Regions from separate parts of the Homo sapiens genome. Here regions 2, 3, 4, 5 and 6 are each linked to region 1. Evidence: promoter capture Hi-C in 16 types of primary human blood cells and fetal thymus (Javierre and others, 2016). All regions are on one chromosome and are shown on one strand. Each heading gives the region's core, a stretch centred on a gene start or on the middle of the fragment in contact. The rest is flanking DNA. Distances are from core to core; before and after follow the strand shown. Region 1 holds the start of SRSF11 (serine and arginine rich splicing factor 11). Region 2 holds the start of SH3GLB1 (SH3 domain containing GRB2 like, endophilin B1). Region 3 holds the start of OMA1 (OMA1 zinc metallopeptidase). Region 4 overlaps MYSM1 (Myb like, SWIRM and MPN domains 1). Region 5 overlaps SELENOF (selenoprotein F). Region 6 overlaps HS2ST1 (heparan sulfate 2-O-sulfotransferase 1).

The links. The method cuts DNA at HindIII sites, captures the fragments that hold promoters and counts their contacts. A CHiCAGO score of 5 or more calls a contact.
Region 2: a contact is called between the fragment with the promoter of SH3GLB1 here and the fragment with the promoter of SRSF11 in region 1, in 1 of 17 cell types (total CD4 T cells). The highest score is 10.9, in total CD4 T cells.
Region 3: the fragment with the promoter of OMA1 here is called in contact with the fragment with the promoter of SRSF11 in region 1 in 1 of 17 cell types (total B cells); the score reaches 5.2 in total B cells.
Region 4: a contact is called between a fragment that was not itself captured here and the fragment with the promoter of SRSF11 in region 1, in 1 of 17 cell types (activated CD4 T cells). The highest score is 5.6, in activated CD4 T cells.
Region 5: a fragment that was not itself captured here is called in contact with the fragment with the promoter of SRSF11 in region 1 in 1 of 17 cell types (total CD4 T cells); the score reaches 6.0 in total CD4 T cells.
Region 6: a fragment that was not itself captured here is called in contact with the fragment with the promoter of SRSF11 in region 1 in 1 of 17 cell types (total CD4 T cells); the score reaches 6.4 in total CD4 T cells.

Annotation. Positions count from the first base shown.
Region 1 is chr1:70,218,564-70,223,127 of GRCh38, forward strand. SRSF11 (serine and arginine rich splicing factor 11) reads left to right here and starts at 2,817. Exons shown (of 12, transcript NM_001350605.2): 1 at 2,817-3,276. The coding sequence starts at 3,074. RefSeq lists an enhancer at 2,711-3,256 and a silencer at 3,152-3,201. The HindIII fragment of the contact is 2,724 bases long and covers 1,863-4,564 here.
Region 2 is chr1:86,703,326-86,707,847 of GRCh38, forward strand. SH3GLB1 (SH3 domain containing GRB2 like, endophilin B1) reads left to right here and starts at 1,251. Exons shown (of 9, transcript NM_016009.5): 1 at 1,251-1,646. The coding sequence starts at 1,575. It overlaps CLCA4-AS1 (CLCA4 antisense RNA 1), which reads right to left and starts at 1,168. Exons shown (of 5, transcript NR_135837.1): 1 at 282-1,168. RefSeq lists enhancers at 455-524, 1,089-1,590 and a silencer at 1,415-1,904. The HindIII fragment of the contact is 3,313 bases long and covers 437-3,749 here.
Region 3 is chr1:58,544,248-58,548,987 of GRCh38, forward strand. OMA1 (OMA1 zinc metallopeptidase) reads right to left here and starts at 2,479. Exons shown (of 9, transcript NM_145243.5): 1 at 2,456-2,479. It also overlaps a transcript of DAB1 not described here. RefSeq lists enhancers at 1,888-2,514, 2,728-2,917 and silencers at 2,128-2,217, 2,228-2,327. The HindIII fragment of the contact is 5,811 bases long and covers 1,652-4,740 here.
Region 4 is chr1:58,685,676-58,690,136 of GRCh38, forward strand. It overlaps MYSM1 (Myb like, SWIRM and MPN domains 1), which reads right to left. Exons shown (of 20, transcript NM_001085487.3): 6 at 3,363-3,441. Among named protein-coding and RNA genes, the nearest start is that of MYSM1, 12 kb to the right of the region's middle. The HindIII fragment of the contact is 6,559 bases long and covers 1-4,461 here.
Region 5 is chr1:86,903,007-86,907,571 of GRCh38, forward strand. It overlaps SELENOF (selenoprotein F), which reads right to left. Exons shown (of 5, transcript NM_004261.5): 2 at 275-442. Among named protein-coding and RNA genes, the nearest start is that of SELENOF, 8.8 kb to the right of the region's middle. The HindIII fragment of the contact is 1,155 bases long and covers 1,297-2,451 here.
Region 6 is chr1:86,920,260-86,925,101 of GRCh38, forward strand. All of the region lies in intron 1 of HS2ST1 (heparan sulfate 2-O-sulfotransferase 1), which reads left to right. Among named protein-coding and RNA genes, the nearest start is that of HS2ST1, 8.0 kb to the left of the region's middle. RefSeq lists a silencer at 3,261-3,439. The HindIII fragment of the contact is 2,489 bases long and covers 631-3,119 here.

The DNA.
Region 1 (4,564 bases), core at 1,567-4,066:
ATAAAAGATTTATGTGTACCCATCACAGAGAATAAATAAGTGTTAACATTTCAGGAAAAAAAGAAAAAGGCATGAACCCTGACCTTCTGTTATTTGTCCTTTTATCATCAAATATTTTAGCATGCGTGGCATATAGTAGGCACTCACAATAAATGTTAAACTATTAAGTATCTGTAACTGGCAGTTACATATGTCTGATTCAAAATGAGAAAATTAATTACCATTCTTTGTATTCACAGATACTTATTTATGAGTGACGTGCAGTTAGTTATACAATCAGCCTCCATAACCATGTGTTCCACATACTTGGGTTTAACCAACCCCCATCAAAAATATTCAAAAAATAAAAAATAATGACATTAAAAATAAAAGGTTTTAGAAATACAGTATAAAAGCTATTTACATAGCATTTACATTGTATTCAGTATTAAAGTTGAGTATCCCTAATCCAAACCAAAATCCAAAATGCTCCAAAATCTGAAACTTTCTGAGCACTAACTGGCACAAGGTAAATGCTCATTGGAGCATTTCAGATTTTAAATGTTAGGATTAGGGATGCTAAATCAGTGAATATAATGCAGATATTCCAAAATCTTTTTTAAAAATCCAAAATCCAAAACACTTATGGTCCCAAGCATTTTAGATAAGGGTTACTCAAGAGTATGAGGGTATGTGCTTACATTATATGCAAATACAGTTGTACCAGTCCTGAGGTGAGTATTCATGGGGAATTGATACCAGGACCCCAGAGGATATCAAAATACACAGATGCTCAAATTCTTTATGTAAAATAGGATAGCGTTTGTATATAATCTGTGCACATCCTCCCAAATATTTTAAATCATCTCTATACTAATAATAATACAATGTAAATGCTGTGTAAATAGTTGTTAGACAAGAAATAAAAAGTCTGTACATGTTTAGACCATCAATTTTTTTCCAAATATTTTCAGTCCCAGGTTGGTTGAATCCACATACATGGAACCCATGGATACAGATCAAATGCTTTATTACACAACACCATTTTACATAGGGGATTTGAGCATCCTCTGGTTCTGGTATTTGTGGGAGGGTCCTGGAACCAATCCCCCACAGATACTGAGGGACAGCTATATGCTTTTCTTTAAAATTCTGAAAAGTCTTGGCTCTAGCTAATGTTAGTTGATTTCTATGAAGGCCATAATTTGTAATTTTGCTGAGGCTCACATTCAGTCAACCCATCCATTTTCTGTATAAGCACTAGTGAAAGTCACTTAGCCAGTTGGCTCTACACCCAAATCTCAATAACCTTGTGCTCTAATCTCTCACATATTGCATCTTGACTGCATTGTGCCAAGAGGTATTCACTAATGTAGATACTCTGTAAGGCTTCAAGTTTGTTTGTTTGTTTTTACCTCCAAAACATCTAAAACTTTTACCTCTAAAAACATTCAAGGTCAAGTGAATTATTTAGTGAACTGTCTTAAATGCCATTGTCATTAAGGTATATTTGTGCGTGTGTCCAGCACATTCATTGGGACTGACTGTGTGACAGACATTGTGCCAGGTTCTGGACTGACCCAGGAAGCTCACAACTTTGAGTGATACATGTCAATAATAAATACATGTATCTTCTGTTACTTAGCAGAAAAGAGGAAGCCCTAACAGCTTGCAGAAGTCATAGCAGTGAGGGAAGGAATGCTCTACAGAAGATGACAGATAAGATGAGTGATGTTATTAATAACTTGTGTATCGGCACAGAGACATTATGGTTTTTGTCATGTTTGGGGCACTACAAGTCACTGGACTACACACTGGATGCAGTTGAGAGAATAGTTCAGATGAGGTTGAAAACAAAAGCAAGGATTTTTTTAATAGTCAAAAGCTTCAAAATTATTTTAAGCAAGAATATGTATGTGAAACAAGTTTTTCTTGAGAAATTGCAGTATTTTCTTTAGAAATATATACTTGAATATATTTAAGTACTATAAACTGTGTTTCCAAAGTCAGCTATTGTGGAATTGGCTGGGTGCAGTGGCTCACGCGCCTGTAATCCCAGAACTTTGGGAGGCCAAGGCGGGTGGATCACCAGAGGTCAGGAGTTGGAGACCAGCCTGGCCAACATGGTGAAACCCCATGTCTACTAAAAATACAAAACTTAGCCTGGCGTCGTGGCAGGCGCCTGTAATCCCAGCTACTCCCGAGGCCTAGGTAGGAGAATGGCTTGAACAGGGGAAGTGGAGGTTGCAGCGAGCCAAGATGGTGCCACTGCACTCCAGCCTGGGCGACAGGGCGACTCTGTCTCAAAAAAAAAAGTCATCCATTGTGAATGAATGTACAAAACGCTTATTAATAAGTGTAATATTAAAATATATCTTTTCTGAAAGTTTTAGTGACAAAACAAATTAGTTACAGATTTAATGTTACCAAAATTCATGTACATTGAAAATTTCGGGACATTTTATACTGGTGGTGGTGGGGTGGCATCTTAGCTTGGGTTTAAATATCATTAGTAATCGGATAGCTCTGTAGATGATTATCAGTATATAAAGACATCGTGAGCAGTATTTAATAAGAAGAGTTGCTGAAGTGACTTTTGCAGGAGGATGAATGCTTTTTTTAAAAAAAAAGTTTATACGTGCCTCTTCGCTCTTCCAAAAAAAAAAGAGAGAAGAAAAAGAAGAATAAAACGAGAGACGAAGGTGGATAACACCTTTCTCTAGACCCCGGTGCCTCTCATTTCTCGGGCTGCAGGCGACGGCTGCTGGGCCTGCGCGGGGTGGAGCCGACGCTGACGCGCCCTGCGCCGCAAAGCATTGTGGGAGCTCGGGCCCGCTAGTGTCGTGGTTGGAGGCGAGGTGGGGCGGCCGTTTGTTTTCTCGTGGTCTCGAGCTCGCGCGCTCTCATCCCCTCCCCCGCGGCGTGCGGCGGGGCGGAGAAACGGCGGCGGCGGCGGCGGCATCGGCAGCAGTAGCAGAGGCTGTAGCATCGGACACCCTCCTCTCTCCCGCAATCCGGTTCCTCTTCCCCCTCCTTCTCACTGTTTGTTGTGTGTTTGATGTGTTAAAGCAGGAGCGAGAACCCGAGCAGCGCCATGAGCAACACTACCGTCGTCCCCAGCACTGCAGGTCCGGGCCCCAGCGGCGGGCCCGGTGGCGGAGGTGGTGGTGGCGGCGGAGGCGGCGGCACCGAGGTAATCCAGGTGACTAATGTCTCCCCGAGCGCTAGCTCTGAGCAGATGCGGACTCTCTTCGGTTTCCTAGGCAAGATCGACGAACTGCGCCTCTTCCCGCCGGAGTGAGTATCGTCCACCATCACTGTTCCTGCTAACGCCGCCTCAGCCTGGGCCTAACACACACAATTTCCTTAGGCCCCTGTCGCTGCTTCCCCGGGCCAGGCTGCTTGAGTGGCTGGTGGCTGGTGGATTTACTTAAGACGGTTGTGTTCCAGGCCTACAAAAAAATGCAGAGAGGCAGGGCCAGGGCTTTTTGGAATTAGGAAACACTGGCTGTTATTCTCGGGAAATTTTTTTTTTCCGCCTTAAATTGTGCCAACGTGGTCGTTTGGCTTTGGGGACTTAACGCAAGACTAACCGCAGTCTGTACGTCGTATATAGGTTAAATCCCTTTTTTAAAAAACTGAGTATTTGTTCTTTGCGTTCTTGGAAGAAAGGTAACAAAATTATTCATGCCTGTGTTAATTTGGTGTTAAACTTTGTAGGTTGTTCACTTATTGTTATTGCTGTTATGTGGTTCTGGCCCAGCAATATAATTCAAAGATCATATTCTTTTTGACAGACGCTTAGTTTAGTGTGAGCCTGATTACTTAATTTGTATAATGTCAAAAAACGGGTTATAAACCAGAGATTTTCCTTTGTTTGAATAATATACAGATTTGTGATATTTCACAGTTGTTCTTGAGAAGGATTTTTATAAATGTTGAAATTTGAATTAGAGTGTATGACTTTTTATCCTTTTTGTCTCACTTTTATTTTGAAAATTATTTCTATCGCAAGAATATTAAGTGGATGAATTGTAAAGAAAAAATAGTTCAAAGAAGCTAAGAAGTAAGATAAAGTGTACTACTAAAACAGACAATTGGAATAATAATAATAGTCTTGTGCTTTTTGGAAGACTTATTGGTGGAGAAGTGACAATTCAAATGTCATTATCAGTAAATATCATATATTGAGAATTTTATGATGTCACTTAAATACTAAACAGGAAATTGGAATCCTCTAAGAATCTACTGTTATGGTACGTGTAACCATTAACTTTCTGCTCAATAAAATAATTGACAAAAGTTTATCATAATGAGATATTTGTTAAGTATTAGCATATTTCATCACTTTCCACTTAAAATACTTTCACAAGATTATTGGTGTTTTCAAATTGGTATGTTTCTAATTTTTAGGGAAATGTACATGTGGAGAGAGGATTTACTTAGTTTGCATGACGTGGAGTTCTGGGAACAAACACGTAAATCTTTATTCCTGTTATTTTGACAGATACTTGATTTGGTAATGAAAGACAAATAGCTTTCATAACATGAACATACAAAAATAGATGCTTTGCTGTTGTTCAGT
Region 2 (4,522 bases), core at 1-2,500, about 16 Mb after region 1:
ATTCAGGGACACCACTGTGTCCACCATTAAAGAATTTCCCCTTTAATGGTGGACACGGTGGTGTGATCCTTTTGTAGAGACGAGCATAGGTTATGGCAAATATACCTACTTTAAAAACAGTGCTCTGGGAAGAGAGTAAGTGCTTTTCCACATAAAGATCTAAAATAGACAATAAATGAGAAATAGGGTTTTTTATTATATATTCATTTTTCCATATTTCTGGAAAATGAAACAGACATGGAGTATTTCAAAGCTGGGAGAGATCATTATATTGGAGTTACCTTAGAAAGAGGGGGCTGTTTCTGCCACCACAACAAAGAATGAAACAACACAAATATTTACGTTTTCTTCTTGTCCTCATAATGCTTTTACTGCACTCGTCTTTCAACCTTTAACATCTACTGCATCTGTGACTGTTGTTTCAGTAAAACACGGAAGCTTGAATGTAAGCTCATTTCATTGCCTGCTGCACAACCACACAAAACAGCATTTTCTTATTCTTGAAATATGATAGCAACGTCTCCTTCCATGCTTGTACCTGTTTTAATTCCTTTCAAGCAGAGGCTGTATCGTGAAAGATGCTTAAGAAGTTACTTGGAACGACAGGATTTGGAACGGATGTCACATCATATTCTCATTTGTTATTAAAATTAGTCACGCTTAATTGTTAAGGACTATCCTGTGTCGCTCGCCATCTTTGTGTCCTCCACCTGGCACTTTGCTTTCACACAGTAGGCACATAGCGTTGAGGTCCCGGAAGGTTGTCAAGTAACCGGCCAGGAGCTTGAGGGCAGGACATTGTCTCCGACACTTGATTCAGTGCCTGGCACACAGGAGGTATTCAATTATGCTGAATGAATGAGCAACCGGCTCGGTGGGGGACAGTAAACCCAACCCTATTCCGCGAACGTTTGCTGAGCGGCATCCAGGCCTCAGGGACCAAGTGTGTCGCGCGGTGCCATACCGTGACCGGGACCTGTTATTTCTAATGTCCAGATATTGTAATTCTATGCTGTAACTCCTATATTTCCTCTTAAAACAAAAAGAGAAATGTGGGTCGTGTTCGCTCTGGGTTCTCGTTAAGTGCAAGCATACAGAGGCGCCGAGACCCCGCGGCTCGCCCTCGCCGCTTCCTCCACAGGAGCCGGGCGGAGCTCCCGGCGCGCCCCGGGGCTGCGCCGCCGCAATCCTCAAGGGGTCGCTGTTCCCGCGATAACCTCGAGAAAGGCTCCGCCCCGCGGCCCGCGCTTGTTTTTCCCTTGGGACCCGGGTCCACACGGCGGGGTCGCCCGTCCATCTCCGGCTCGCCCGCGGGGCCCATCGTCGACGTTAGCGGCCGTTCTCCGAGCCGACTGACCCATCCTTGGCGCTGCCGCCGCGCGCTTGTTCTCCTCCCTCGCCCCGCCTTCATCCTCCCCGTTCACGGAAACGACAGCTGCGGCTGCGGGGCTGGCGCCGCCTCCCTCCACCTACCACGTCTGCCCTCGCCGCTCTAGCCCTGCGCCCCAGCCCGGCCGCGGCACCTCCGCCTCGCCGCCGCTAGGTCGGCCGGCTCCGCCCGGCTGCCGCCTAGGATGAATATCATGGACTTCAACGTGAAGAAGCTGGCGGCCGACGCAGGCACCTTCCTCAGTCGCGCCGTGCAGGTACCCTGGTGCTGGGGGGAAAAGGGGTGGCGGCGCCCGGGAAGGTTGAGGGAGGGGACCGCAGCTCGACGCGGCGCCCCCGGGCCTCGCCGACCACCCAGCGGGCCTGCTGCAGCCAGAGGCCTGGGAGATGGGCGCGGCCTGGTCCCCTCCCCGGGCCCGGCGGCGGATTTCTGCCCCGCTCCTGCCCAACCGCCGCTCCCTGGGAAGCGAGGCGGGGTGGGGACGGGGCCGGGAGCTTCCTCCCACCCCTGGGGAACACTAAGGCTGCACTGTCCGCCTTTCTGATACCACGACGTCAGTGCTCCTGTGGCCTCCACCCCGGGGCTGGCGGAGGCTTGCGAGTCCTTTGCGGTAACCGAGACACAGGCCATTCTTGCACTACCCCCCACCCTTTCCTTTCGTCTCTCACCCTCCCCTCGGAGTCCAAGAAGGGAGTTTCCTTTTCCTGTCCTTCAACCCAGAGAGCTGCCAACACAGTTCCCTCCGGCCCTCTTTCTCCCTGAAAGGACTGTCCTGGGCTTGGCAGCCCGCGGGGGAAATGGAGATCGCCAGTTGGCGTTGAGACTTTGCCAAGACCACAAGAAACCTAGGGTTGGGGGGTTTTCACTCTTTTTCAAAATGGGAAGCACCAGCTGTAGATCAAGGAGAGATGCGGGGATATTGTTATGGCTGTAGTCACAGTAGTATGTTTTAAATATACTTTAAGGGGAAAAGTTGACTACCTCTCGATATTCTACAATCAAGGAAGTGTCAGTACTAAGGAACTTGGGCCGTTTCCCACAGTCATCACCCATGTTATGCCAACTCAGTAAATCTGTGAACAGATGTAAATTTCACAACATGAATTATAAACAATCTGGTGTTTACGGTCACGGTAGCAACAACATTCTCTTTTGTAAAAAGAAAACAAAAATAATTTTCTAATATGCATACCAAATTGGTGCTGAAATGTAAATCTGTTCTGTGGCTTTACTACTTTCCTTGCCTTTGCCCCAATTTTGTTGGCACAGTTGATCCTACATTGCACTATCCCTGGCAAAAGAGTAGTAGAGCTAGAGCAAGGTAATAGCTGCCTATATTATGAAAAACCTGTCAAGCACTTTGTAATGCATTTGACATATTATCTCCAGTCTTTTCCATAACTTTGCCAGATAGATGTTATTAACCCCTTTTATATATGTGAGGAAGCAGCCTTACTGAGGTTAAGAAACTTGCACAACTAGTAAATAACCAGGTGCTGTCTGACCTAGTACTCCCAGCTGCTTTTTCTTCCGGGATAAGCATTCCAGATTTAAGATAGCTAGAATAATAGAATGCTGTGGCCTAGAGAGACCTTAAAAATCATCTGGTTCAATCTGAGCATTTCCATATCAACAAGCAAGTAACACTTTAGAGATGGTAAATTCCTTCTAGCTTTTGATTTCTAAGTTCTAAAATCTGCATGGTGAGTAATAAGCTAGCTGCCTTAACCCTTTTCTTCCCTTCCTTCCCTAAAATATGATATATTGTAGACGTTGAGCCTTTATAGTTAAAATAATGTTTTGATTTAAATTCACTAGCTTCTAATAGTTCAAAGACAAGGTGCAAGAAGAATGAGTGATTGAGGGTGTGAAATGAATTTTGATGTGTGAGACACTTGTACACTTTTAACATTGACTGCAATAGAGGACTAGAGCCCTTGGTATTTTTGTTTGTCCTAGTGCTCATTACCTATAATTCTAGATGCTTATGAGGATTTGACACTGTATAATGCTACTCTTTTAAATACAGTTAAATATGTTTCAGACGTATAACTCACACCCCTTAAAGAGGACACATTTACTAGAATTTAGTCTGATTTAAATTGTGGATAGACTCAATTTAAAAAATTAAATCTAGCAAAGCTCTCAAAATGTGTACTTCCCAAAGAATTTTAATTCCTTGTTTCAAATTCTTTAGGAAAAAGTTTTAAATTTTATGCTAATCTGTTAGCCATCAAATAATTTTCTTTTCAGTTTTAAATATTTAAGTGTCTACTGCATGTCTGATGTCTGCTTGTGGCTACTGTGGACACTGGTGATACAGCAGTGAATAAAATCAGCAAAGTGTCTGCCCTCCTGAAGCTTACATTGTAGCGGAAGATAAGCTTGTAAATACATCAGGTGGTGATAAAAATCATGGCCAGAAGAATAGAATAACGCAGAGATGGTGGTTGTTAATATCTTTATTAGTATTTTCTAACATTAGTATCGTGTATAGATAGGATGGTCAGGGCAAGTCTTTCTAATAGGATGAAATTCAAGAGACCTCAAGGAAGTGACAGACCTAGTTTTTTTTGGAATAAAAGTATTTCAGGCAGCAGGAAGAAGTACAAAGACTGAAGTTTCAGGGGCATTAAGGAGACCAATGAAGGAGCTGTGGCCATAATACACGTAAAAGGCGATTGTAACTTAGATTACAGTGGTAGCAGTGAAGGTTCCAAATTATCCAGTATTGGCTGTTGGATTGGCTGTGAGGTATGAGAGAAAGATGAGTTAAGGATGACTCCAAGGTTTTGGCTTGAGCCGTTTATTAAGGGAAAAATTTTAGGAGAAACAGACTTCTTTAATGTGTCTGTAATTGTTAGAGATACATACTGAAATGTTTATGGATAAACTTATATCATATCTGAGATTTGGTTTTTACAGGGTATTTTTTTTTTTTTTTTTTTTTGAGATGGAGTTTGGCTCTTGTTGCCCAGGCTGGAGTGCAATGGCGCGATCTCAGCTCATTGCAACCTTCGCCTCCCCGATTCAAGCCAATCTCCTGCCTCCGTCTTTCAAGTAACTGGAATTACAGGCAGGCTCCACCACGCCCAGCTAATTTTGCATTTTTAGTAGAGATGGGGTTTCACC
Region 3 (4,740 bases), core at 1,229-3,728, about 12 Mb before region 1:
TCTGAACTGTATTATTATTCATTCATTCTGAAAATGTTTAATGAGTGCCCACTAAATGCTAGGCACCATAATGGATGCTAGAGATACTGCAGAGAACAAAACAGATTTTAAAAAACCCTCCCCAATTTGCAAAAATAGTAATGAGAAAATATGCTAGTATATACAAAAATAAATCTGAAAAAAGATACACCAAACTATTCACAATTATTTTGAATGGCAGGATGGTGGTTAAGAGGGATTATTAGTATTTTCACCTTATATATTTCTGTGCAGTTCAAATTTCTACGGGATGTATTATTACTTTTTTAAACCTCCACTCAGGCAACTATTTCTGTAATTCCCATTGTTTTTCTTTTCTTTTCGAGACAGGGTCTCACTTTGTCGTTGTCCAGGCTGGAGTGCAGTGGTGCCACCTCGGCTCACTGCAACCTCGCCTCTTGGGTTCAAGCAATTCTCGTGCCTCAGTCTCCTCAGTAGCTGGGATTACAAGCATGCATTACCACATCTGGCTAATTTTTGTATTTTTAGTAGAGACGGGGTTTCGGCAAATTGCCCAGGCTAGTCTCGAACTCCTGGCCTCAAGTGATCTGCTCACCTCGGTCTCCCAAAGTGTTGGGATTATAGGCCTGAGCCACCGCACCTGGCCAGCCCAGCTAATTTTTTAATTTTTTTCTGTAGACACGGTGTGTCACTATGTTGCCCAGGCTGGTTTTTAACTCCTGGGCTCAACTGATCATACTGCACTGCGAAGTGTTGGGATTACAGTCATGAGCCACCACGCCTGGACTTTCGTTGGTTTTCCATGGCTTCCACAAACTCCTTCATATGGCGAACCAGGCCCTCCTACTACTTCTCCAGGCACCTTCCCCAACCCTCCTTCACCCATTCCTAAATTCCAAACTCCCTGATTTACTTACACCCCACAGAAAAAGAAAGCTCTCATCTCTATGTCTATGCACATCTATTCACACTGCTTAGCTCTGCACATGACAAGCAAACTCCTTCTCATTTCTCATGACTTGTGTAAAAATTTTAAAAGAATCCTATTGACACAGAAGGTATAAGCAAAAGCCCCAACACTACGCATATATAATTAAAACCATTATCATTTCTATCACTGACAACCAAGTGTCGTTTTGAATAGAAACAGTGCCTGATATTTTGTAATACCCGGTTTATCCTGAAGAAAGGGTAAAGAATGAGGGAAGAAATCTATTCATGCATTTTCAAGGAGCCAATCACTAGACTACAGAGCACATAAGAAAAAAAAAAATCAGGGCTGACATATTCTCTTCAAAGAGCTGTGGCAGGTCAACAAACATAGCTGGCAGACTTCTAGGATAACAAAATTAATGATGTGAGAAAATTAAACAATTTGGATTGTTAGCCTCTACGAACATTTCAGATCCTTAATTCTTTAAGTACCATCTCCGAATGAGCAAGTGCAGCACTCACTGGCACTCACAGCTGAAGCCTGGAAGACAGTTTTAACAACTCTTGCTGAAAATGACTATTTCTTCTCTAGTTTCTATGGAAACAGCTGTCAGATTGGCAAAAATAGGACATGTACTTTAAAATAATCATTCAAGCAAAGTACACACATGATGGAAGGCTTTAAAAAAGAATTGGACGGCAGCAGACTTGGTTCTTAAGCTTCCAAATGTCAGACTACACCCCTTCACCCCGGCTGAGAATGACGGAGATGAACCTAAATCCTTTTAGCGAGGGTTGCACGACCTTGATCAACGCCTGAATGCCAAATAAGGGATTTTCATCTCCCTGGACTACAATTTCTTGTTGAGGATTGCACGGCACAATAAAACTGTTGCTCCACACACAGGCGACATTTAAACAGTATACAGTGAGTTCTGTAGACGAGTTTACGAGGAAATTGTTAAAACTCCCCGGAACTGCTTAGACGGGGAATGTTCTGGTTTGCCCTGCCGAGTTTAGGCTGGAAAACGTGTTCAGTTTCTCCTGAAGAGGGAAGGGGTGAAAGAGACGAATGCCCGACGCGCCGGGAGGCGGTCCCCTCTGGCAGAGGTGCCGGGTGAGGAGCCCGAAGCCCCGCGGGTGAGAAACCCTGCTCTGAAAGCGGAGCCGCGGATAAGGGCGGGCTGAGGGGGAGGGCAGGCGGCCCACGAAAGTACTGCCACGGGGCAGACACACGGGGTCACCGGCGTGCCCCGGGCAAGGCTAGGGGAGAACCGGGCTCCCCCAGGACAGATCCCCTCCGTCTCCCGCCCCGGCGCCCCCCGCCCCTCCCCTCCACGCAGCCTTATCGCCCACCCACGCCTCCTCCCGTACCCCCATCCCCAAGGATCCCCACTCCTTGCCCGGGCGCCCCCGCAGGCGCTCTGCGCTCCGCCCCCTCCCCACTGCCGCACTCTGCCTCCTCCCCTGGGCACGATCCTACTCGGAAAAGCTGGGGAAAAGCGTCACCGTGAGGACTGACTCAAGCAGAAGCGAAAGCGGTGACACCGCAGACCCGACCTATGCGCAGGCGCGCACCCGCACTTCCTGCCCGCCATACCGGCCGGGGCGCCCTTCGCTCCGCCCACACCCGGCAGTCAATACAGCCGCCCAGAGTCGTTCTCCCAGCTGCCCCGGGCCCCGCGGAGACTGTGGCGCTCTAGCGCCTCCGTGTGGCTTAAGGCGGGACATGGCCCTGGGCTGGGCTGCTTGCCTAGGAACAACTTTCTCCCGTCTTTGGTGAGTTGGGTCCTCTAAAGAATGATCCACGCAAGGCTGTGTCCGTTGTAGTCTCTACGGCAGTACCGGCCAAAAGGGAAGAGACTCGAAGACTGCCAAAAGACGAAGGCTTCCTGGTTCTGAATCTGCATTCATAGAAATAGTCTTTGGAGTATGGGAACAGTGCTTTCATATGATTTTTGGAGGGACGCATTTTAAGAAAGATGAAGTATAATCTTAAGTGTCTGGAGGTTAAAGTAGCTGGCTCCAAAATTATGTGTATAGTATGTTTCATTCATTTCACCAAAACATATTTCTTGAGCATCAACTACATTTTAAGTGCCAAGGATGTAGCAGTGAACAAGACAGACCTGAATTTCGTGAACTTTATATCACAGTGAGGAAAGACAGGCGATTAAAAAAAAGTGTACAAATAAACACAAATAAATAAAAGTGTACAAATAAGCCAGTACAAATAAACACTGGATTGTGATGGATGAGTAGTGAGGTCTCATATTAGTTTATTATGTTTACACTCTGTGCACAATGAAAACATCTCAAAGGACATAAACACTATGTCAAAGGACATAAACACTATGAACAATTTTAGGTATCTCTTTTGGAAAATGTGTAAGTTACTGTTTCGTTTATCTTATGTGTATTTTATGATTTGCCTTTTACTTTGAAAGGGATATCCTGGAAAACCCCTGACAACTGGACCCCTAAAAACTGAAGTAGGAGGTCCTTCAGTCTTCGTAGGGTTTATCTCCCAAACTCTGGAGTGCACATGTCTTACCAAAGTTTCCAGCATGCTAGCCACCTCTTGCTCATCTTGCCTGGTTAGCATAATGTCATTGGTGAAATAGATGGGTGTGATGTTCTCTGGAATTTCCAGTTGATCCAGCTCCTTTTGGACTGCGCAGAGCCATTATGTCATTATCCTGGGTCCACCTGATTTCCAAAGGGGCCAGACTGGCAAGTTAAGTAGAGATATGGCAGGGATGACCAACCACTCTTGTATATTTCAGGTCTTTAATTATGACATTAATCTCCACCATCATCTCACTATCCCCTCAGATGAAATATCGGTTTTGATTTATTATCTTCACTTGGAAAGAAGGACAGCTTCAGAGGCTTCCCATTGGCTTTCCCCACCATGATAACTCAAGACCAAGGACCCTGAGCTTCTTACCAATGTGGAGATTGCTCCAGCTGCCCAATATGTACTCCCAATTATGCACTCAGGAACTAAGAAAATGACTACTGGATGGGTCAGTGTATTCCTGGACCCACTGTAAGCTGGACATTATCCAGGACTCTGCTTATTACCTGATCCCCATAAGCCCCCACACTTAGAGAGGAGCCATGTGTGTTACATACTTTGGGTAACACCTGTGAAATGTCTGGGTATTCCTCTTTCCTCAACATAAAATCAGTCAAGAAAATGGCCGTGGGACACAGACCAAAGAGTAATCATTAATTACAGTAAATATTTGTTTCAGTATTGCAGGATTCTTCTTTATAGGGACCCAACAACCTCTTAAGTCAACAGATTCTGTGGTCTCAGTGTGAAGATAGGCTCAGGTCTGAGACTTGAGCAATGAGCAGTGCCTTTTATTAAGCAACTACTCCCTGCATAGGATAAATAGCTTCTTGTCTTCCTCCAGTTGTAGATGTTAGGCAACACTCTTGTTGGCTGCCCGTCTGTTTTTCCCCTAGGGAGACCTTATGCTATTAAAGCCCTCCACAACCTCCTGTGGATCAAGCCCCCTTGGCTGCTCCTCTGCCCTTGGCAGATGTTACAGTAATTACATCTTCTGGTGTCCTCATGGTTAAAGCCACCACCTGGCTTCTACTACTTCAGGATCCTGTTATCCCAATGGATATTATCAAGCCCAGCCCTGTGATTGCCTCTCCTACCGTCAGCCCTTCCCTCCAGAGGAGAGCCTTCTCTGAACTTCTTAGTGATGCTAGTGCCCCTCACGCCAGTGCATTCCCCATGGCCATAGAATATGATGCATCCTCTGGGCCTCCCATGGAACATTCCCC
Region 4 (4,461 bases), core at 367-2,866, about 12 Mb before region 1:
CTATTTTGCAATATCCATTATGTATCTCACAGCAGAGACTTTTACTCTATCAGATATCACAGTGAACTGACCTAAAAGACTAAATCGATTAAATCACAAATGAGGAAGTCCTGCAACAAATGTCTTCTTTGTTAAGATGTTATAAGCCCCAAGTTCTAACTACCCGTTTCATTACTCATCAGAGTTTCTCTTGCATATGTATATGCTGCACACATCAACAAACTCTGGTTTTCTCCTGTTAATGTCGTTGTCAGTTTTTATTTCATTTTTGAGACAGGGTCTCACTCTGTTACCCAGGCTGAGTACAGTGGTGTGATCACGGCTCATGCAGCCTCAACCTCCTAGGCTTAAGCAATCCTCCCACCTCAGCCTTCCCAGTAGCTGGGACTACAGGTACGCACCACTTTGCCGGGCTAATTTTTTATTTTTTGTAGAGATGGGGTCTCACTATGTTGCCTACCCTCCAACTAATGCCTTCTGACACCTCCCACATCCAGGTGTCAAAGGCTGTGCACGTCATAACACTGAAGCTGTGGAGGGAAAAAAAAAAATGACAACTTGAGGGAGCTCCTGTGTGTTCTCAAGCACAGAAAGGAACACATAATTTGACAGCTAAAAGGGACTGTTAGGTATCAAGTCTAACTATAATTTAATACGTAAATCCTCTCTGCAATATCCCCAACATAAGATATTCTCTACTTCCTAAGGTAGCTAAATAATTCTATATTTTTAGAATTCTTAAAACTATGAAAAAAACAAAAAACTAGCCACAACTTAGGAAAAGTTTTGTCAGATTTACAGGCCAGGCAGTCATGCCTTACGGTAGCAAATCATTTTCAAAGATCTCACCCAAGTGATAAACCTTAATTTAAGTAAATTTCTGATACTCATTAGAAAATATGACATATGGACAATTTCTTAAACTCAAAGTGCTTCTGAAAATTATTAGTAAATATAAATTAATTATTTAAGATTGCTCTTAACACCTAGCTGAGATCAACTTGATGAAAAACTACTTATCTTTATTGTGGGATGAAGACAAATAGATAACATTGGTAGGTAGCATGGAGCATTTGTGGAGACAGGACAGATCTGGATTAAGATATGATTAGTAGAAGAGTAGGGACTTGGGCACTAGAAAAATTGGGGAAAGAACACGAACAAGAGGAGCAAAGAAGCCAGGCACAGTGGCACATGTATGTGGTCCTAGCTACTCAGGAGACTGAGGCAAGGGGATCACCTGAACTCAGGAGTTCAAAGCCTGGGCAGCATAACGAGACCTTGTTTCTTAAAAAAAAAAAAAGAAGATAAAAAAAGGAGCAAAGAAAATATTCACCAGTTTCAAAATAGAGCAAAGGGAGAGTCCCATGCCCAAAAAAGGGAAGGAAAAAAGCCTTTCTTCATCAATCAGTACCACCCAAGTCCCTACTCCCAAGCCTGAGAGAATTCAGTCTGTAAGCAAACTTTATCAATGGTTTAAAAAAAAGCTGAAAATACAACTAATAATTCCATGCTTGTTGTGTAGGAAAACATTCCAAGTTTAAAATCTCCCTTAATGTAAATAGACAGAGGTCTACATATCTCTATATAAATAAATACATATTTACTTATATATGGACAAATATCTCTGGAAGAAAACACAAAGAAGACACTGGTTACCCCGGGCGAAGCGAACTGAAGGCTAAGATGAGAGTGAGAAGACTTAATACCCTATAACTTTAGGAACCTTTTGAATTTTAAACCATGCAAATGTAGTCCCCATAAGTACCACCAACATAAAAAATAACAACCCAAAAATGAACCTTAAATTCAATCTATTTGCAGATGTAAGCATATATGTTAGTACAAACTGCACCATGTTGTAAGCTCCCTGCTATTTTGCAGACCTTTGTCGAAGTGAAACATTTCACAGGGGTTCAGGCCATGAGAAGTATCCTGCCTAACCACCTGACTACAAGACAAACAAAGGCCCAACTAAAGAAATATCCCTATCCTATCTTGCTTGACAAAGGTCCAAAAAACACCTGAACACCACAACGACATCCCGCCGGAACAAGGGCCAGAACTGCCTCATCATGGGAACATCTTATCAATGTCCTGCTGGGCAGCAAGCCATACTGCCCAGACCTCTTCTGCCGATACCTATAAATTGCCCCAGGCTATAAGCAGCAGCGGGCTCTGGCATTAGGTTGGTCTCCCACTTCTGTAGGTTTTATGCTGGACATAAAGCCTGCATTTGCTGCTGAGCTGCCCTCCTTCTGCGTGTGTGTGTGTGTCTTTCTTTAACCCTCACCTCCTCTTTAAGACCTAACATTATGTATCTGGTCTTTGATAAGGGGCAAAACACCAAAGTTGTTAGGAATCTTAAATAAATGATTAATTAAAGTTAGATCATATAAATGATAATCATACAACACACTGAAATATCAATATAAAAAAAAAATCACCAGTATAGGAACAAGTCTTGAAGAGATAAAAACCTCAAGATCATTTATATATTTATATAAGAATATCATACAGTATACAGATCTCATGGTGTTGACTAAAATACAAACACAAACATTTTATTCTCATCATCTGTAGAAATGTTAATGATACTTCAATTAGCATACATAAATTTTATATATACAAATATTCTATATATGTAATGTATAAATATACATAATTTCAAAATTACTTAGAACATTACTAGGTATCATGCACCTTAAAGGAAAAGATATAAACTAATCTTGATAGTAAAAAAATTAAAAAAAAATCCTAAGTATTTTTTTTTAAAGTTTCTTCATATTAAGGGGTATTTTCAGAATTAGAAACCAGAATACGTATCTTTTCCATTATGCAACTTGTGAACATTTAAATAGATTTCAGTGTAATAGACATTCACGCAAAAAAAAAATGTTTCTGGTCTTCATTTAGAGTCGCTGAAATATTTAGACAGTGTATACAATGCCAAATTATCTGAATAAAAACTCAGCTGATCACCCCAACAGTTTCAAATATACAAGTTTTTATTTTATTTCAAAAAAAAAAAGAGATTACTAAATAATTTTGCCTTTTAATCCAGGTAGTTGGTGTCATGTATACAGATATACCTCAATTTCTTGGATTTTGATAATACCACAAGAACGTGAAAACTACAGATCTAAATCTATTTTAGTATTTTAGTACCTTAGATCTAAGTTAAAAGGAATTCTCTTGCACTACACTATAAACATCATTACTCTAACTACAGAAGAACTAAAGGTGTTAAAACTGTAATTAAAAAGAAAATTCAGGTCTCTATAAATTAATTTAACCTTATAACTTTACCAATATTTGCTTCTAGAATTATTTTACTAAAAATTTAAAATTGCTCTATTTACCAGCCCTTGTTCAAACAGCTCTTTTTCTTCTATCGTCCACTTTACTGAGTAACTGGCTGGTTTTGTAGGAGAGTGTACCCTGAGGGGAAAAAAAGGAATTGCAAAAAAAATTTCTGAAATGGAACATTCCATATTTATGTAACTAAAGGTTATAGATAGCCATGGGCTAAATTCAATACTTTGAGTCTAGGAATTAAAAATAAACAAACAAACAAAACAAGAAGGCTACAGCCTCTACCTGGGGGCAGAGATTTACCCTGTCACGTGTCTCTAGCTCAGGATGATGGGAGCCCCAAAAGACATAATCCTTGGGTCTGAGTGAGGGTAACACTAAAAGACATCAAAGGAAGTCAATGTGATAACAAACAAATAGGCTCCCTTAGACTGGATACAAAGCAGCAGGTGTTAATACATTCCCAAATCCTGAAAGGCATGTAAGAGTTTAAATTGGTTCCACAAATACTATCTCTTTAGTTCTTTCATGTAAATCCATGTAAATATTTAGAAAAGAAGTCAAAAACTACAGCATTGTATTTATTGCTTTTAAAATTCATTATCTCAAGGAATTAAAAATAAAACTGATGAAGCTCACTAATTTAAGCAACCCATTAATCCTTTTGTTAACTTCATTTCATTGTTTATTCAGCAAAATACAAAAGCAAAAGGCTGCTCAGTACTCAACCTCTTGGGCAATTGCAAATACGTAAACCACCCTTTAAAGGACCATAAACTTCCAAAGTCATAAATGCTAAATAATGTTTTTTCAATTATAGGGAAAGGATATTTTTAAAATAGTTAATTTCTCCAGATAATTTTTGAAAGCCACAAATCCAAATGAAAATTTTGTTGAAAATAAGTGAAAATTAACTGACAGAGTAAAAGAAATCAAGTCAATTCCAATATATCACATAACAGCTTCTCAAAATTTCCCCATAAACCCCTGGACAACCATATTTTTCACAATCTGAAAGAATTGCCTACATAGGGCCATGAAAGAAATTCTGGCAAGTAAATAACACCATAAAATTATACTTGTGCCACTCCAACATCTTTATTAAAAAAACTGTTTTTATATCTACTTTAAGGTCAAGAGGGCTTT
Region 5 (4,565 bases), core at 624-3,123, about 17 Mb after region 1:
AAGACTGGAGAACTACAGGATCAAAGCATGTTATAGGGATTCTACTTCCCCTTTGCTTGACAATCATGGTGGAATGGGATCCTGGTATGCAACCATACTTCTCCTTCATATTTGCTTTGATTGAACTAATAGGCCAGACAAGAAATCAGTTGAGTTTTACTAAAAAATGTAAAAGCTTAGAGGCTTTTTTACACTTAAATTGATTAAGCAACTTACATTTTTACCTTATCTCAACTAAACCATCCAATGGAAGGAATATACTAGAAAACAGTACCTTTTTGGTTTCAAATTGTGCTTCCTCCTGACAGCATCCTCTGCAATCAGGATCCAGCTGAAGCAGGTTGAACTGTCCGAGAAGATCACAAGAGCTGCAAAGCAAGTTGCTAGAAAAGCCTAACTCTCTGCATGCCTCCGATGAAAACTCTGCCCCAAAAGCAGACACCTGAAAATAAAAAATGGGAAATAAAACACAATTCCATATTTATACTACAAAGCTTTCCAAAAAGAGAACACGGGGTTGTCAAAAACTAACACATTGAAGACAAGTTACTGAAATGTTTCATTTGGAGATAAATTCTTTTAAATTTTAATTTAATTTTATTTTTTTTTGAGACGGAGTCTTGCTGTCGCCAGGCTGGAGGGCAGTGGTGCAACCTCGGCTCACTGCAACCTCTGCCACCTGGGTTCAAGTGATTCTCCTGCCTCAGCCTCCCTAGTAGCTGGGATTACAGGCGCATGCCACCACGCCCAGCTAATTTTTGTATTTTTAATAGAGACGGGGGCCACGATGGTCTTGATCTCCTGACCTCGTGATCCGCCCACCTTGGCTTCCCAAAGTGTTGGGATTACAGGCATGAGCCACCTCGCCCAGCAATAAATTCTTTCTTAAACTCTGTAACCTTATGTAATAGTCTGGTTTCTCCCACCTCCCCTACAAGCTTTTTTTCTTAAACATCCATCATCTTTCAGCTTAGCTAAAATATGGATTAAGAAGAAAAGGCATATCATTGTTCATGATGTTTATCACATAAATATTTTCTTAAAGATTTATTGTTTTAAAAAGGAATTTTCTTATAAGAAAAAATAATTTTTGTTTCATTTTAAGAACTCAACATCTGTTCATATGGGTCTATGGAGTAAGATTAGCTGTAGGGTTTATCTACAGTCACATCCAGCAGAAGAAGGACGGGAAAGGGGATGGTGCAGGCAAGAGCACGCCAGAATTCAAACTTTTGGTTTTAGGTAATAGTGCCACCAGTTACAAGATTCGTGACCCTGGGCAAACTATCCTCCCTAAGCTTTAATTTCCTCACTCATAAATTAAGGGGCAATACTTCCTACATAAAACAGATTGCTATGGTTACCTTACATAAATCGTTACATTAAATCAGAGATGATTTAATCAATCAGAATGGCTGACAAAAGCAGGCTTTCAACAATATTCCCTTCCCTCATCCATTCTTTTTTACCTATCAGTGAATGTGGTATACCTCCATTTGTCTAAGGCCAATCCCTCTACTTCCTCTTTGGATTCTATCTTAACAGATACTTCATTTCATCAATACTTCAACCTTTAGCTATATTTAAGCCCTATGGTCCTAACTGCTCTTCCCACGTTCTGTCATTTCTGAATTGTTACTATAACTTGGTTTCTATTATCTTTATTTTTTCCTAACACCCCAAACTCATTAATATAGCCTGGTTTCTGCTCCTACTACTCCACAAAATTTGCCCAAAATTACCAAATGCAAAGGCATTCAAAACTGTTCTGCTTCAACTACCCCGTCCAAAGGCCTGTCCTCCTTTACTTTTCTCTTCTATGCATCTCTTAAATGCTATTGTTTCCCACAGTTCTGTTTTTGGCTCTCTCTTAGCTTTACATGCCTTCTATTTATTACTGCATATTTATCCATGGCTTCAGATATGCATTTATTGAAAACTCTCAAGTATTTTTCTTGAATGTCAGGCTTCCAAAGCCAACAGTCCACTCAATATCACATTTAGGTGTTGAATATGCATTGCAAGTTCAAAATCTGCAACACTGAAACTTATATTTTTCTTAAATCTATTCTTCCTAAGGTATTCAGTATCTTAGTAAAATGGCATCATTTCTCTGACAAGCTAGTTGCCCAGATCAGTCATCCTACTGACCTACACTCCATATTCTTCACCATTCTCACAACCAATTAATATATTTTTATAATTCTCTTAAAAAGCTCTCAAGTCTTTTCCTGCCTCAGTGGCTTAAATGCTCACTGCCAAGGCTACTTCTCATTACTTCCTCAATTCCTCCTGCTATAAGGAATTCCTATAGTATCTTGAAGTATAAAAGCCCTACTCAAACACACTTTTGCTCACAGTCTCCCCTATATTTAAGGTTCTGTTTCCACTTCTTCACCTTGTAACATCTTACTTATTTTCAAGAATCTAATCAGTATTAGTCTTTTAGGAAGCTTTCACTGACCAAAAAAATCAGATCTCAATCATTAGCCAGAGTACTTTTCTTCTCCGAGAAACTTGTGCACAGTTGTAAAACAGTACCGTTCGTGACACTGTACTATGTAAATCTGACTCCTCAACAATACTATGAACTCTTCTGAAGGCAAGCATTAAGTTGTTTCTCTGTCTTTCCCTCACTTGTGACAGTTTTCATATATCTGTTGGATAAATAAATCGCACAAAGCCATAGCGTCAGGTAGGGGAAATTTCAGATTGACTGCAACTGACTGATCTTCTAGACTAAGGGTATGCAAACTTTATGTGAAGGGCCAGATAATTTTGTTAGGCTTTTGTGGCCATATGGTTTCTGTACAACTATCTAACTCAGCCATGGCAGTGCAAAAACTAGTCACAGATAACACATGAATGAATGAATGTGTCTGTGTTCCAATGAAACTTTGCTTCATTTTGTTATGTTAATTTGTTCTACAAAAACTGGGTTGACTGAATTTGGCCCACCAGCTGCAGTGTGTCAATCCTTTTCTAAACTCACCAGGTAGATTAATATCCAGTGGCATTTCCCAATGAAAAGAAAATTTAAGTACTTGTTGGCATATTCACCCAAAATGCTGACGTGATATTTTATACATCTTTAATCTTATCTCTGTAATAATGTCATATGTATAATTTTTCAAAACAGATGAGACATCCCAGCCTAGTGGGAGGGAACTGTGACTTTATTGGTTAATTTGTGTGTTTGATCTCTCTAGTTTAACTATAAGACACTTGCTACCATACTAGTACTTTGGGTAATTTCTCCATCAGTAAAGTGATCTGCCTCATTTATTTCACAGGATAATTTGAAAATCAAATGTAACAATGAGCAGATTGTGTTTTCCAAAGACAAGACAATCAATATGTATCAAAGGCTGCATCAATGTGTACATATCATTTCACATGTTCTTACAATGTTAGTCCTCCACTGAGAAGTGGGGTCTATGTTCCCTCCCCTTGAATCTGGGCACGGGCCATGACTGTTCTGAACAACAGAGTTTAAAGGAAGTTATGTGATTCTGAGGGTAGGTCGTAAAAGAGCAAACAGCCTCTGCCTGGCTAGTATTCTTTCTTTCTAGGAACATCAACTTTGGAACTTAGCCAACCTGCTGTAAAGAAGTCTATACAAGAGAGACAACATGGAAGGGCCCATGTAGAGAGCAACTGAAAACTCCAGCTGACAACCAGTATCAGCTACTAGACATGTGAGTAAACCACCTTCAGATTTCAGGCCCTAGTGTTTCAACTGAGGTCTGAGACATCATAGAACAGACAAGCCATCCCTGCTGTGCCCTGTCAGAATTGCTAACTCACAAGATTTGAAAGCAAAATAATCAATTGTTTTACGTCACTAAATTTTAGGGTAATTCTGTTTTGCAGCCATAGTTACTGAAAGAGGCAATAAGAGTGAAATCACTTTGGAAACTGTGAACTCGTTAACAAACGTATAAAACTGTTACCAAAACCTTTTAAACAACAAAATAAGAACCTCAAATGAATAATCATGCAATTATACTATTTGGTTTTATTCTGGCATTTATGGAGCACCTACTGACAGGTAGCATGACTATGCAAAACATCATGTATTTCAAAGTCTTAACACACATCTAGATTCAAATGCCATCACAGAGCTACCTTATTTCTAAACAGGGAGTATTATCATTTATCTCGTGGAATTCTGAGGATTAAAGAAGCAAGTGCACAGAAAGCATCTAGCATCCCGCCCAGTACACAGTAGGTACTGAATACATGTTGGTATTAGGCTCACCTTCCACTGTGAAAGCACACTTAAAAATTACAAAACACTATATAAATGTTTTTATCACTATACTAGACATGGGATAAAAGATAAGTATAGGGGAGATACAAAGTATCGAGTTTCTTAGGTAAACTACTTTTTTCTAGCTGTTCTATCACTGGTTTTGCAGACTTAAGGCTTTGAATTTAAGGACATCAGAAAGTATTTTTAAGTACCTGACAGATAAATGCTAATATATGAGAGTTTGATATTATTCCTGCCATCCTTTTATTGCCAAAAGTAACTGATTGGCATTTAAATTTGCACATTAAGA
Region 6 (4,842 bases), core at 625-3,124, about 17 Mb after region 1:
ATTATGTTCTTAAAACTCTACTAGACTAAACAACTAATTCCAGGGCCAAGGTTGAGACTGCTTTTTGGAATTTGGTAGTTTTTACAAGTAAGTTCCTGAAACCATGCAGCAATACCTGTAAGATGTTCCAGAGAATGCTAGATTTCCTCACTTCTGAAATCATTTGGAAAACCTCATAGTAGCTACTGTTTTGAGGACTTTGGGTTAATAGGAATACAGTTATTCTAGAATTGGTAATTGGTGCCTCACTTAGTCTTGAATAGGATGTCTAGTGCCATGGAGTAGTCACCTGAAATAGTTGATCTCAATTAAGATAATTCCAGGATGTCTGTCCACCACTCTGGTAGGCCTTCTAATAGCTTTTTGGCACTTAGAGAAATTGAAATAATAATGAATGTTCAAAGATTGCTCTCCAGAAGACCATTTTTGAAGGATGTACTTATAGATGAACTTCATAATCATGGTTCACTATAGCCTAGTTATTTTTAAGATCTACCCACCTACCAGTACCTGTACTTACGTATTCTGCCTTTCTGCCTGTTAACAATAGATGGTAACTGTCAGTGCTCCTGTTCGGTCATTTGTGCACCTGATTCTGTTGCCTCACTTACCTAAAGACATGGTTCCCGAAGCTTTCCCTCATTCTCCTGTCACAATGTATTCTTGAAAATTGCTAAGAGAGTGGATTTTAAGTGTTTTCACCATACCAAAAAAAAAAGTATGTGAGGTAATGCATGTTGTCTTAATTAGCTTGATTTAGCCATCCATGATATATACATGTTTTAAAACATGTTGTACATGATAAATATATACAGTTTTGTCAATTACAAATAAAAAAAAACTATCTTGGTAAATGTTCCAGGTGAACGTGAAAAATATGTATTCTGTTGTTATTGGCTGAAGTATGCTGTAGATGTCGGTTGGTAGTATTGTTATGGTGTTTTGTATTCTTGATTTTTTTCTGCCTCTTCATCAGTTATGGAGAGGGGTTTTGAAATCTTTGATAATTGTGGATTTGTCTGTTTTTCTTGTAGTTATGTCACTTTTTGCTTCATGTATTTTGAAGTGCTGTGATTAAGTATATGCACATTTAGGCTGTCATGTCTTCTTGATGGACCAACCCTTTTTTTTATACAAGATACCATCTTTATCCTTGGTAATATTCTTTGCTCTGAAACCTACTGCTGTGGTGTTAATGTCTCCCCCAAAATTCACATGTTGGAAACTTAATCTCCGATGCAACAGTATTGGGGCGGGAGGTGGAGGGTGTTTAGGTGATGAGGGCTCTCCCCTCATAACTGTATTAATACTGTTATAAAAGAGCTTGTGGCAGTGTGTTCTCTTTTTTCTACGTAAGAAGACAGCATTTGTCCCCCTTTTGCCATTTCTACCCCCAACCATGTGAGGATGCCACAAGAAGTCCCTCAACAGATGCTGGTGTCTTGATTTTGGACTTCTCAGTTTCCAGAACTGTGAAGAAATACATTTCTGTTTTCTATAAATTACCCAGTCTCAGGTATTTTGTTATAGTACCACACAATGGACTATGATACTTACTTTGTCTAATACTAATACAGACACTTCAGTTTTCTTTTGATTAGTGTCAGGTGGTATATCTTTTCCCATCCTGTTAATATTAACCTACTTGTGTATTTATATTTAAAGTGGATTTTTGGTAGACAGCATCTAATCTTTCATCTAATTTCACAATCTCTTTTGTTAATGGAATGTTTAGAACACTTAATGTGATTATTGATGTGGTTGGGTTTAAATTCGTGAGTTGCTATTTGTTTTCTGTTTATCTTAACTGTTCTGTGATTCCTTTTTTTCTGTTGTCTTTAGGATTAAAGGGGTATTTTTAAATTCCATTTTTTAATTTGATGACTTACTAGCAGTGCTCTTTGTTGTTGTTTTTTTTTTAAGTGGTTGCTTAAGGGTTTATGGTATACATGATAGAATTTCATGTGTAGTATAAGAACCTTAATATATTACCACTTTTTTCTGGGTTCTTGCTATCGTCATTATACATTTTACTTCTATACATGAGTCCTACAATACATTATTATTTTTGCTTTAACTTATATTTTAAAAATATATAAAATGTTTAAAAATTTTTTAAAAATTTGCTGACATATTTACCATTCCCAGTGTTCTTCATTTTGTGTGTGTGTGTGTGTGTGTGTGTGTATGCAGATTTTCATGTGGTACCATTTTTTTCACTCTGAAGAATTTCTTTTAACATTACTTACACTTAAAAATATACTGGTGATGAATTCTTTTCATTTTGTGTGTCTGAAAAAGTCTTTATTTGCTATAGTGTTTGAAGGATATTTTTGTTGGGTATAGAATTCTAAGCTGACATTTTTGTTGTTTCAGTACTTTAAAGATATTGCTTCATTGTCTTCTGGCTTGCATTGTTTCTGATGAGAAGGTTGCCATCATTCTTTGTTCAACTATATGTAGCGTGTCTTTTATTTTTCCTCTTTTGCCTACTTTTAAGAGTTTCACTAGGTTTTTAATTATTTAATTATTAAATTATGTTTCTTGTGCCCTTGTATTATGTTTCTTGTGCCTGGGGTTTGTTGAGCTTCTTGGATCTGTGAGTTTACAGTTTTTATTACATTTAAACATTTTTGGCTATTATTTCTTCACGTTAGTTTTTCTATGCTGCTTCTCCTCTCAGGAACTCAAAATACACTTACATTAGACCACATGAAATTGTTCTACAGTTCAGTGATGTTCTATTCATCATTCTCAGTCTTTTTGTGTGTGTGTGTGTTGTTTTAGATAGTTTTTACTGCTAGGTCTTTAATTCACCAATCCTTCTGCAGTATGTAATCCACTTTTAATATTACCCAGTTTATTTTTTATCTCAGGCGTTGCCTCCCACTCCTCCCCCTGCCCTTCTAGAAGTTTAATATAGGTCTTTAAAAAATTATGTATCATTTCTTTCCTTAACATCCTGTATTAGCCCGTTTTGACGCCCTGAGACTGAGTAACTTACAAAAGAAAGAGGCTTAATTGGACTTACAGTTCACATGGCTGGGGAAGCCTCACAACTGTGGCAGAAGGCAAGGAGAAGCAAGTCACATCTTATGGTGGCAGGCAAAAAATGAGAAAGCTTATGCAGGGGAACGCCTTTTTTTTTTTTTTTTGAGACAGAGTCTTACTCTGTCACCCAGGCTGGAGTGCAGTGGCGCAATCTCGGCTCACTGCAAGCTCCGCCTCTTGGGTTCACGCCATTCTCCTGCCTCAGCCTCCCGAGTAGCTGGGACTACAGGTGCCTGCCACCACGCCTGGCCAATATTTTGTATTTTTAGTAGAGATGGGGTTTCACTGTGTTAGCCAGGCTGGTCTTGATCTCCTGACCTCATGATCCACCCACCTTGGCCTCCCAAAGTGCTGGGATTACAGGTGTGAGCCACTTCGCCTGGCGGGAATGCCTCTTTTTAAAACCATCAGATATTTTGAGACTTATTCACTATCATGGGAACAGCATGGGAAAGACTTGCCCCCATGATTCAGTTACCTCCCACCAGGTCCCTCCCACAACACAGGGGAATTCAAGATGGGATTTGTGTGGGGACACAGCCAATCCATATCATTCCACCCCTGGCCCCTCCCAAATCTCATGTCCTCACATTTCAAAACCAATCATGCCTTCCCACAGTCCCCCAAAGTCTTAACTCATTTCAACATTAACTCAAAAGTCCACAGTCCAAAGTCTCATCTGAGACAAGGCAAGTCCCTTCTGCCTATGAGCCTGTAAAATCAAAAGCAAGTTAGTTACTTCCTAGATACATTGGGTAAATACAGCCATTCCAAGTGGGAGAAATTGGCCAAAACAAAGGTGTTACAGGCCCCATGCAAGTCTGAAATCCAGCGGGGCAGTGAAATCTTAAACCTTCAAAATGATATCCTTTGACTCCATGTCTCACATCCAGGTCACACTGATGCAAGAGTTGGGCTCCCATGGCCTTGGGCAGCTCCACCCCTTTGGCTTTGCATGATATAGCCCCCCACTCCTGGCTACTTTCACAGGCTGGCATTGAGTGTCTGTGGCTTTTCCAGGTGCACGGTGCAAACTGTCAGTGGATCTACCATTCTGAGGTCTAGAGAACAGTGGCCCTCTTCTCACAGCGCCACTAGGTGGTGCCCCAGTAGGGAATCTGTGTGGGGGCTGCAACCCCACATTTCCCTTCCACACTGCCCTAGCAGAGGTTCTCCATGAGGGCCCCGCCCCACAGCAAACTTCTGCTTGGGTATCCAGGTGTTTCCATACATCTTCTGAAATCTAGGCTGAGGTTCTCAAACCTCAGTTCTTGACTTCTGTGCACTCGCAGGCTCAACACCATGTGGAAGCTGCCAAGGCTTGGGGATTGCACCCTCTGAAGGCATGGCCCGAGCTCTACGTTGGCCCTTTTCAGCCATGGCAGGAGGTCTGGGACAAAGGGTGCCAAGTCCCTAGGTTGCACATAGCACGGGGACCCTGGGCCTGGCCCACGAAACCATTTTTTCCTTCTAAACCTCTGGGCCTGTGATGGGGGGGCACTGACATGGAGACCTCTGACATGCCTTGGAGACATTTTCCCCATTGTCTAGGGGATTAACATTCAGCTCCTTGTTACTTATGCAATTTCTTCAGTGGGCTTGGATTTCTCCTGAGAAAATGAAATTTTCTTTTCTATTGCATTGTCAGTCTTAAAATTTTCCTAACTTTGATGCTCTGTTTCCCTTTTAAAATTGAATGCCTTTAATGGCACCCAAGTCATCTCTTGAATGCTTTGCTGCTTAGAAATTTCTTTCACCAGAAACCCTAAATCATCTCTCTCAAGTTCAAAG